Regions from separate parts of the Homo sapiens genome. Here all the other regions are linked to region 1. Evidence: promoter capture Hi-C in 16 types of primary human blood cells and fetal thymus (Javierre and others, 2016). All regions are on one chromosome and are shown on one strand. The core of a region is centred on a gene start or on the middle of the fragment in contact, and the rest is flanking DNA. Distances in the headings are between cores, read along the strand shown. Region 1 holds the start of HMGN4 (high mobility group nucleosomal binding domain 4). Region 2 holds the start of H1-1 (H1.1 linker histone, cluster member). Region 3 holds the start of TRD-GTC2-6 (tRNA-Asp (anticodon GTC) 2-6).

Region 1 (3,421 bases), core at 19-2,518:
ATTTTGCGGACCCACCAAAGAATGCAGCCCTTCTTTTCTCATGGTCATAAAAATATCACATTCGGTTGGGCGCGGTGGCTCATGCCTGTAATCTCAGCACTTTGGGAGGCCGAGGCGGGCGGATCACTTGAGGTCAGGAGTTTGAGACCAGCCTGGCCAATATGGTGAAACTCCGTCTCCAACTAAAAATACAAAAATTATCCGGGTGTAGTGTTACACACCTGTAGTCCCAGCTGCTCGGGAGCCTGAGGCACAAGAATCGAGGTGGAGGTTGCAGTGAGCGAGATCGCACCATTGCACCCCAGCCTGGACAACAGAGTGAGACTCCGTCTCAAAAACAAACAAACAAAAACAAACACATCACATTCTTATTAGTCATTTGAGGGAACCTGGAGCAATATGATCTGAGAGGCTAGGCTTGGCTAATCCCTAGAAAAAGTAGTAATACATCTAAGAAAGAAATCCCTCTTAGGGAACACCCGAGGCTGCCAGGTGACACAACAAAACTTTCTCATAAAAGCGTTTGATTAATCCGATTAACTTGTAAGCAAGCCATGTGGCAGAGGTAAGAGGCCAAACACCAAGGCACCAGTCCTGATTCTAAACAAGTGCTGGTCCATTTCTTAACTTTGGGATCCATTTTTTCTTTGTGATGGAATAGCAAAAGGTCAAAGTGGAGGAGGACTCAGCCCTTGGGTGTCTCCTCAACGAGGGTTTCTCGAAGGTAAATTGGGGAGGAAGGGAGAGCCCACGGCAGGTCAGTCCAACCTGCCAGTCACCACCTCTTTAAGGCCACAGCCCTGCGGGAGCAATCCTTTCAAATCCCCTTCCTTCCTTCTTTTAGAACGCCCCTAGAACGCCGATTAGGACTTCTCATCCCGGTCGGGCCTGCGGCTCTCTGTGACCCCACCTCTGGATTCAGCTTTTCCCAGGGATTCACACTCGGAGCTCAGGAGAGATGCTGCGATTACTCTGGAGACGGGAAGACAGGCGGGGCTGACGGGGCCCAAGGCCCCTAATCATGACCGGGGCCAGCTGGCAGGAGGGTCCTAAGTATACGGAGGGCGGCGGGACCCCCCCCACCACGCCCCTCATTTTCCGGGGTAGCGCACAAAGTCTGTGAGGCACTTACCCGAGTCTCGTGGCCGTCCGAGGGGCGCGGGAATCCCAGCTGAGGCCCGTGACGCGCCGGAGCCCTAGGCGTGGGCAGGGCCAGCACCAGCCCTAAGACAGAGAAGACGAGCGGAGCCCGGCTCCGCCAGGAACAGGAAGGCGAGGGAAGGTGAGGATGCGCTTCCGGGGCTGCAGGCGGGGAGCCGCCCCGAGTCCAAGCCGGAGAGAGCTGGTTCTCCCCCTGGCGATACGTGTGTGAGCCTCTGAGGCCCGCCCTAAGCACTGCTGCCCCGATCTAGCAAGACAAGAAGACAGGAAATTTATGACAGCCTGAAAAAGTCTTTAAAAGATACACACTGGAAGAATTTCGTAGTAAGATGAGGAAAAAAAAACGTGTTTCCGCCCGGTTTCGAACCGGGGACCTTTCGCGTGTGAGGCGAACGTGATAACCACTACACTACGGAAACCCACTAAGGGCTTATTTTTCAGAGTAAATAGTTCTTCCTGCCTAGTTCCGTGTTTCTTCGTTCCAAGTGCGTGTTTTGCTGATGTGCGCGTGCGTCTCTGTACCGACCTCTCAAACCAGAAAAACCAATGAAAAGCTCAGACCCAGCCCCTCCAGTGTTCAAACTGAAGCCATAGAATTTATTCTACAAATGACTGAATAGGGAAGAACACAATAGAGACTTTAATTTAATCTCTGAACGGTCCTTCGTTCTTCGGCCAAAATGGCCAGGCAAGGCTGGGCACAACTTGGGTAGGGCGAGCGTTTCTCTGGCGTAGTTGGCGTTACCACGTGGTCAGTGGCAGAATGCTCCGCAAAGAAATGATAACCCCATATGTTGTCGGGAGCTGCCCCTCTTGCTTCTGAGTCTTCCAGGCAAATTTATCTTGCAGGAATTTCCTTACTCCTGCGGAGTCAGAAAGTTGTAAAACGACCCTGCTTACACCGAGCCAGCCAGGAGTCGAACCTGGAATCTTCTGATCCGTAGTCAGACGCGTTATCCATTGCGCCACTGGCCCTGCGCGTACCTTAGGGGCGAGGTATTTCATAAGAAACTAGGTTGTACCCGTAATATCTGGGTGAACGCCTGTAAGCCGCGTTTGCCCGCTGGTCCAGGCTCGCAGCGCATGGACTCTCTGGTAGCTACTTCTGCACACGCCCCGTGGCCTTCATTCCTTTCTCGGTCTGTCTCTGCCGGCTGAAAAATGGCGGTGAAAAGCAAGCCCTGCATCCTCTCTGCCCCAATATCACCGCTCCATTAATGCGTTCGTTCATTCAACCAGTATTAGTGTTCAAGGCACTGCAGATAACGGTGAAGAAAACATGAGAGACCCTTGCCCTCAAGATTACATGGCAGTGGCGGAAGCGGATAATAAAGCATTAAATAAACAAAATAATAGTGATAAGCGATTGGAGAAAAATAATAATAAAACAGGGAAAGAGGATAGGAAAGGCCAGCAGTGAAAGTGATGAATGAGGGATAAATGCTGATATCGGGGAAATGAGTGATCTGGAACAGGGAAAAATCGCTAGGGAAAAGGCCTGGAGGTGGAAGCAGGCTTGGGAGTTATGTTGAGGAGGCCGGTGCTCAGTGGAGAGGAATAGGAGATCCTGGGAGACCACCTCCAGCTTTATAGGCCCTTGTAAGGACTCTGGCCAGCTTTACAGGCTCTTGTAAGGACTCTGGCTGGTATTCTGTAGGAAACTGGAAGCCGTTGTACGGTGACGTGGTCTGAGTTTTCATTTGTCTCTCTGTGGGTCTTTTTTTTTTTTTCTTCAAATATTTTACTAAGCGAAACTGTGCTAGGCCTCCTCACTGCATGCTGCTTCTACTGCAGGGCCTTGATCTCAGAATTTGACAGCTTTATAAGGAGCATCATCAACCCGGACACTCATATGAATGTTCACTTTTTCACTTTGAAAGCAAACAAACGTCTCATATGTGTGTGTTTTAGTTTGTCCATATTTCTGAGAATAAATCATCCCCATGCCTGGTGAGCATTTTAAATAAGATGAGGTCTACTAAACAGAAGTAAAACTGCCTGATATTGAGAATATACACTTTGAGATTAGAAAATATTTGTTTTCAGTTCATAAGGTTTCAACAGCCGTTACAAAAAATATTCTGCTCTTTCTGCATAAATATTAAGGTAGACCTAGGTTATGGATTACTCCCTAGGCAATAGCATAGGGATCTTCTCGTTAGGTTTTGTACTATGGACCCCAAGGGCAGCTTGGTGATTCTGGACTCTATCTCAGAATAATACTTTTAAATACACGAAAGAAAAGATAAATATGTAAGAT
Region 2 (3,300 bases), core at 344-2,843, 520 kb after region 1:
GAAAAAAGGGAGGCAGAACCCATTATTTAAAGTGGAAACTCCTGAATCAGATAATTAGGAGTATTTCCTTTTCAAAAGTTGCGTTTTTTCAGATACCTCGCTTATTACACTAAGAAAGGTTTATATCTTTCACAAAGGGTTTACTTACAAAAATCTTCCAATTTTGTATACCTGTGTTTCATAACTGACTAGCCGTCAAACCAAGATGTAGAGTTTCCAACCGTTATTTTCCAAATTTTTAGAAATTACGTGAAATATTTGAATGCATGCCTTCTCAATAAAATGGGACGTAGGAAGCACTGGTGCAGAAGATGGGTACAATACTTATCTGGGACCACTCCATTATTTGGTTGGCACGTTGTTTGAACAAAAAGGGGAAAAGCTCAGGTTACTTAGCATGGTTCGGACTTATTTGAAAACTACCACAGCAGGAGCGGAAATAAGACCGCATTACCTCACTCTCTGCTGTGCTGTGCTAGGGGGTTATCCAGAATAGGATTGTAGAAGTGGATGTCGATTTAATAGTTTTTTATTCTCCCATTAGCTGAGTCTCTGATTGGCAATGTGAGATCGTTTTAGCTTATTGATACTTTGAAATGCACTTAACAGCCACAAACAAGTTAAAGGGTTGTTACCATAAAATCTTATCCCCAGGGTGTGCTTGCATTTATCACCCGTGTTTGCTTTCACACTAAGTGGACTTAACTCCCCAGCAGAATGCCTGTCAGGGAACCGGTTTCGTGGACCCAGCATTTAACGCCTTTCGCAGGCTTGTGAGGCCCATAAATATTTGTTGAATAAAAGAATGAGTTGACCATGTCATGGTGCGCTGATTGCGTGTGCTGACATGGAACACAGGTTGTAAACCTTAATACCAATTTGGGGCATGTTGTATGGATGAAAAGGGCATTGGAAATTCCTGAAGTGCATCCCACATTGGACTGTGGAAATAAGTTGCAAGTGCAGAAACGTTTCCACACTTGCAGTTTGAGTATTAATTGCAGCGTTTGTGAATTCTGGTGTTGTCTACGATTCATTCTTGTTTGACGTGAAAGGTATTCGCGAGACACATCGCTCTAAAACATTGCCAGAAAATGTAATAGAGTTGATGACAACTGGCCCTAACACGGCCTAAAACTCGCACTTTTCTCTCCCTCCGCAACTATTCAAAACACTGTATTTTACATTTCTTGCAAATTAAAAACTAACATCTCTGGCAACGGACCTCTAAAAATTTCTAATAAAACTCCTCGGATGCTTGTGGCACTGCATTTGTAAACCGCCCCCTCTCAACCTACTCCCTAAAAAAGAGCTGCTTTTTGAGAGAGAAGCGGTACCCTCTGATGTTACTGGGCGGCAGTCTGCCTACAATTTCCTTCACAATGAGGCAACCAGAGCGGCTTTTTCTGTGTGTTTGCTTGCGTTGAGGGGAGCAGGACCATAGGCCCTAGAGGCCCCCAGCTGCCTTCTGAGACTGGGCGAAACCCTCGGCAGCGCGCAGGGGGCGCTAGGGCGCGAGGGGCGGGCACTGACGGGCACCAATCACGGCGCAGTCCCACCCTATAAATAGGCTGCGTTGGGGCCTTTTTTTCGCATCCTGCTTCGTCAGGTTTATACCACTTTATTTGGTGTGCTGTGTTAGTCACCATGTCTGAAACAGTGCCTCCCGCCCCCGCCGCTTCTGCTGCTCCTGAGAAACCTTTAGCTGGCAAGAAGGCAAAGAAACCTGCTAAGGCTGCAGCAGCCTCCAAGAAAAAACCCGCTGGCCCTTCCGTGTCAGAGCTGATCGTGCAGGCTGCTTCCTCCTCTAAGGAGCGTGGTGGTGTGTCGTTGGCAGCTCTTAAAAAGGCGCTGGCGGCCGCAGGCTACGACGTGGAGAAGAACAACAGCCGCATTAAGCTGGGCATTAAGAGCCTGGTAAGCAAGGGAACGTTGGTGCAGACAAAGGGTACCGGAGCCTCGGGTTCCTTCAAGCTCAACAAGAAGGCGTCCTCCGTGGAAACCAAGCCCGGCGCCTCAAAGGTGGCTACAAAAACTAAGGCAACGGGTGCATCTAAAAAGCTCAAAAAGGCCACGGGGGCTAGCAAAAAGAGCGTCAAGACTCCGAAAAAGGCTAAAAAGCCTGCGGCAACAAGGAAATCCTCCAAGAATCCAAAAAAACCCAAAACTGTAAAGCCCAAGAAAGTAGCTAAAAGCCCTGCTAAAGCTAAGGCTGTAAAACCCAAGGCGGCCAAGGCTAGGGTGACGAAGCCAAAGACTGCCAAACCCAAGAAAGCGGCACCCAAGAAAAAGTAAATTCAGTTAGAAGTTTCTTCTAGTAACCCAACGGCTCTTTTAAGAGCCACCTACGCATTTCAGGAAAAGAGCTGTAGTACACAGATGAAATCCCCCAAGCAAATGCAACACGCCCTCAATTATATTAGAATCACTTGGAGAGTCGATAGAACTTTAACATAGCCTCATCTAGTAAGAATTTACTACTCAATCTATCAAAGATAGCAAGGTGAATTCAAATGCACCGAGTTAAAATCGAGTTTTAAAGTCACCTGGGTTTCGGTAGCCGGAAGTCCCGCGTCTCACGACTCCAAGCTAATTAGTCATAACCGTATTGAACCAAGGTTGAAGCCCAGTCCCAGGCTTGAGGCTTTTTATTATACAAGGTTAAAGTGGGGATATTGCGTTTTGGGGTCAATATTGCTAAAGTAGCATTTTCCGAAATTGGGTGGTCCTAAGAAATGCTTCTGGGATAGTTGGCAAAATATATGGCTTAACCACGCCCTCTCCACAGGAGTGGCTAGCGAGCTGTCTGTCCTTGGGAAGGACGGTGACCCTGCTGGCGTGGCTGGCGCCCACGTTGGCGTCCTCTGAAAGCCCCGCCAGGTAGGCCTAGCTCGCTTGCTTTCTGCAGCGCCATCATGACAAAGCTTTGAAACGCAAAATGCTTTCTTTGTGCAGCGCCTTACCATGGGTGCACTTACGGGCTGTCGACTTGGTTTAGGCCCTTGTCAGGACAAAGGAGCTTAGTTTGTTGGAGTTTTAGAGCTGCAACCCAAAATCCCTTGCTCGGTTTCTCTGTTTTTAGAAACGGAAGCGCCCTGATTGGATATTTGAAAATTACTGTGCTTAACTGGATCGTGTTTCATCAGTCGTGCAGGATTTTCAACCCTGGTGGAGCCCACACATTCAAAACTGAAGATCCTTTTCTCAGAACTGCCCCTTTAAGCTTTTGCAATTTTAATTCTGGGGGTCAGATTTTAATAATTGGACTTTTTTGTTTACATCTGACAAGAGTATATGATG
Region 3 (3,555 bases), core at 228-2,727, 940 kb before region 1:
CCTGTACTGGAACATCTTCCTGTGTAGGTACAACTTAGGAATTAGCCAGTAATATAAGGAGAATTTATAATACAAATTTGAGATCTTTCTCTGTGGTTCCCTCATCACTTGAATTTTGACCATCAAGTTCTATGCACGTTGGTAGCCCCAAACTCTGACCAGTATCTCCTTAGTCCAGCACAACTGCCTCTTTCCACATGAGGTCTATTCCACAATGGTGCAATACGGGACACACCTTCAGGAGGAAAGCACTTTCAAATGTGCAAACTCATATAATGTGCTTCCCTTCTCTCAAGGATTGTAGTTTGTCAAGCCTTGCCTGGGTTGACAGCTTATCAGTGCCTTCAAACAGTTGCTTTAAGTCGGGCTTGGTGGCTCACACCTGTAATCCCAGCATTTTGGGAGGCTGAGGCAGGTAGATCACGAGGTCAGGAGTTCAAGACCAGCCTGGCCAACGTGGTGAAACCCTGTCTCTACTCAAAATACACGCCTGCAATCCCAGCTACTCGGGAGGCTGAGCCAGGAGAATGGCTCGAACTCAGGAGGCAGAGGTTGTGGTGAGCCAAGATTGCGCCATTGCACAGCAGCTTGGGCGATAGAGCGAGACTCTGTCTCAAAAAAAAAAAAAAGCCAGAAACAAACAAACAAACAAAACAATTGCTTTATAGTTCTTATCCACGATGAATCATTTTTCTTCTAGATTAAAAAAGAAATAATAGATTAAAAGGAAGTAATAGAGACAAACGAGATTCAATGTTAGGTGAAAAGGATGAGGCATCAATCACTCTACTGTTCAATAGTGTTAACGAAAAAAAGAATCCATTGGCTGAAAGTGTTGCACAATAATATTAACTTTTAAATTTGATGGCCAAAATTTCATGACAAAAATGTTAATAATAATTATTTTTCTTTTTTTTTTTTTTGGAGACAGAGTCTTGCTCTGTCGCCCAGGCTGGAGTGCAATGCTGCAATCTTGGTTCACTGCAACCTCCGCCTCCCGGGTTCAAGTGATTCTCCTGCCTCAGCCTCCGAGTAGCTGGGATTACAGGTGCCCGCCACCACACCCAGCTAATTTTTGTATTTTTAGTAGAGATGGGGTTTCAGCAGGTTGGCCAGGCTGGTATCGAACTCCAGACCTCAGGTGATCCACCCGCCTCAGCCTCCCAAAGTGCTTGGATTAGAGGCATGAGCCACCTCGCCTGGCCAATAAGTATTTTTAAAACAAAATCAGACATATTGTTATATGCTGGAAGAGTATTCTTTCATTAAAGAAGCAATGCTGTTGGCTTTGATTATGGCTCACAAAAATATTGCTTTTAATATTCATCCATTCAGCGTTGGTCGAGGGTATATACTAGGTACACTTCTAATTCCTACCTTATTATAAAGGAGCTTAGAATGATTTGGATTTCGCCATACCTTTCCATTTTATATTGTCGTTGCTGTTTTGAAATTTAGTACCATTTGTTTTCATATTCCAACATGTAATCATTACGAAACAATGTTGTTTCAGGCATTCACTCTTTATGTAGCTTTTGTCACATGTTATGAATTTTCTTGCTCACTTATAACATTTTGAATCCCACTCCTTCATCAGTTCTAAATTCCTATTCATTAATGTAGTCGTCACTCTTGTCATATGCATTGTTCAAAATTGTATATTTGCCCTTTTACATTTTAATTCGTATATTTTCATTTATAGTTTTATTAGGCTTTTCTCCTTTTAACTTTCCATTCTGAAATTATTTTAGACTGACAGACACAGTACATGAATAATACAGATAATTCCTGAGCACCCTTCACCCCAATTCCCTCAATATTAGCACATTAAGGATATTCCTATATTTTCTTTTCCTTCTCTCTCTCATATATATACATAAATGTATATTTCTGAACTATTTGACAGTGAGTTTGAAGACACATACCTCCCCTTACCCTTAAATACGTATTTTGTAAATAGGTGTGAATTTTCTTAAAGACATTTTGTTCTATAACCATAGAACAATTAATACAATCAGGAATTCACATTCATAATATTATAAAATCTATAGACTTTATTGAGATTTCACCAACTATTTCAATAATGTCCTTTAAGATAAAAATTCCAGACCATATGTTGCTGTCATATCTTTAAGATCTTCTATAATGTGGACTATTTAGTCAGCCTTTCTTTGTGTTCTGTAACTTTGTTATTTTATTTATTTGTTTATTTATTTATTTATTTATTTATTTATTTTTCCTCCCTGCTTGCCTGTTACTAGGTTGATGCAAAAGTAATTGCAGTTTTTGAGGCGTACAAGTCAGTTATTTTGTTAAAATCTCCCTCAATATGGGTTTGTCTGATGTTTTCTGATTTAGATTACATATTTTTGCCAAGAATACCACAAAAGTGACGTTGTGCTCTCATGAGCACATCCTGTAAAAAAGGTATATAATGTAGATTCGTCCCAATACTGATTCAATCACTTGGGTAAGATGGTATCTACCCGGTTTCTCCACTGTGATGGAGATTACAGTGCAGAGTGGAAATTTTCTTGCTATTACAGAACCTCATGATTTCTACAGCTTATGGTTTTTGCGATCAGTATTTCGTTGGTTTGAAAGAACTCTGCTAAAGAAAAAGAGAACCCAACATTTGCCCAGAAGACTAGAGACTGTGTTTACCGGAAGTGTGCTTTTCTAAAAAAAAGTTTAAGCCTCCTCCCCGTCGGGGAATCGAACCCCGGTCTCCCGCGTGACAGGCGGGGATACTCACCACTATACTAACGAGGAATTGACGTGAAAATGGAGCTCTTAGGAAATCCCTGTGAAGTTACTCGCTATTGTCCATCTTTCTTTGCTCTGTAGTCACACGTTTCCCCTACCAAATATACGCAAGGCAATTCAGCGAACGTGTCTCCGCCCAACCGCGAATCCTCTCCAGTTCCTCCTTCATTCCTCGGACGCTTTGTCAGACCCTTTTAAAAAAGAACTCTCGCTAGCCTCCTTTGTGACGCACTGGTTTCCGTCTATGTTCAACCATGGTTGGAGCCCTAGCTAACATAGGAGTTACAAATCCCGAAAGGTGCATCGGTTGGTTTCAAAGACAGGAAAAGCAGAGGTGGGACCAATACCTGCGCTCCGTTGAGGTAAAATAGATAAAGAGTCTGCAGATGTATTTTTAAAGTTCAGGATGCGTCAAGTGGCACGCAGAAGCTTTATCACGAGTTCCCTCGCCCCCAAACTGAAAGCAAATATGACATCGTATTTCCTCTCTGAAGTAAATACGATTCCTCTCTGTTCTCAGTAAAACATCCCGAAGTCGGCAAAAGTTCAGGCTGCGTTAAGTGGCACGCAGAAGCTCTATTACGAGTTCCTTTACTCCCAAACTGAAAGCAAATATGACATCGTATTTCCTCTCTGAACTGTTCTCAGTAAAACATCCCGAAGTCGGCAAAAGTTCAGGCTATGTTAGGTGACACGCAGAGGCTCTATCACGAGTTTCTTTACTCCCAAACTGAAAGCAAATGTGAGATCCTATTTCCTCGCTGAACTGTTCTCAGTAAAACATCCCGT

Evidence for each region. The method cuts DNA at HindIII sites, captures the fragments that hold promoters and counts their contacts. A CHiCAGO score of 5 or more calls a contact.
Region 2: the fragment with the promoter of H1-1 here is called in contact with the fragment with the promoter of HMGN4 in region 1 in 1 of 17 cell types (neutrophils); the score reaches 5.3 in neutrophils.
Region 3: a contact is called between a fragment that was not itself captured here and the fragment with the promoter of HMGN4 in region 1, in 2 of 17 cell types (fetal thymus and activated CD4 T cells). The highest score is 5.8, in fetal thymus.

The regions. Positions count from the first base shown.
Region 1 is chr6:26,536,213-26,539,633 of GRCh38, reverse strand. HMGN4 (high mobility group nucleosomal binding domain 4) reads right to left here and starts at 1,268. Exons shown (of 2, transcript NM_006353.3): 1 at 1,133-1,268. It overlaps TRR-ACG1-2 (tRNA-Arg (anticodon ACG) 1-2), which reads right to left and starts at 2,136; the gene lies at 2,064-2,136. It overlaps TRV-CAC1-6 (tRNA-Val (anticodon CAC) 1-6), which reads right to left and starts at 1,580; the gene lies at 1,508-1,580. RefSeq lists enhancers at 648-1,057, 2,318-2,982, 3,072-3,421 and silencers at 1,548-1,597, 1,991-2,284. The HindIII fragment of the contact is 7,010 bases long and covers 1-3,421 here.
Region 2 is chr6:26,016,080-26,019,379 of GRCh38, reverse strand. It overlaps H1-1 (H1.1 linker histone, cluster member), which reads left to right and starts at 1,593. Exons shown (of 1, transcript NM_005325.4): 1 at 1,593-2,348. The coding sequence starts at 1,648. The coding sequence ends at 2,295. It also overlaps the pseudogene H3P26. RefSeq lists an enhancer at 2,401-3,300. The HindIII fragment of the contact is 5,921 bases long and covers 1-2,926 here.
Region 3 is chr6:27,478,891-27,482,445 of GRCh38, reverse strand. TRD-GTC2-6 (tRNA-Asp (anticodon GTC) 2-6) reads right to left here and starts at 2,772; the gene lies at 2,701-2,772. It overlaps TRS-AGA2-2 (tRNA-Ser (anticodon AGA) 2-2), which reads right to left; the gene lies at 3,553-3,555. RefSeq lists a silencer at 2,660-2,719. The HindIII fragment of the contact is 3,440 bases long and covers 1-3,197 here.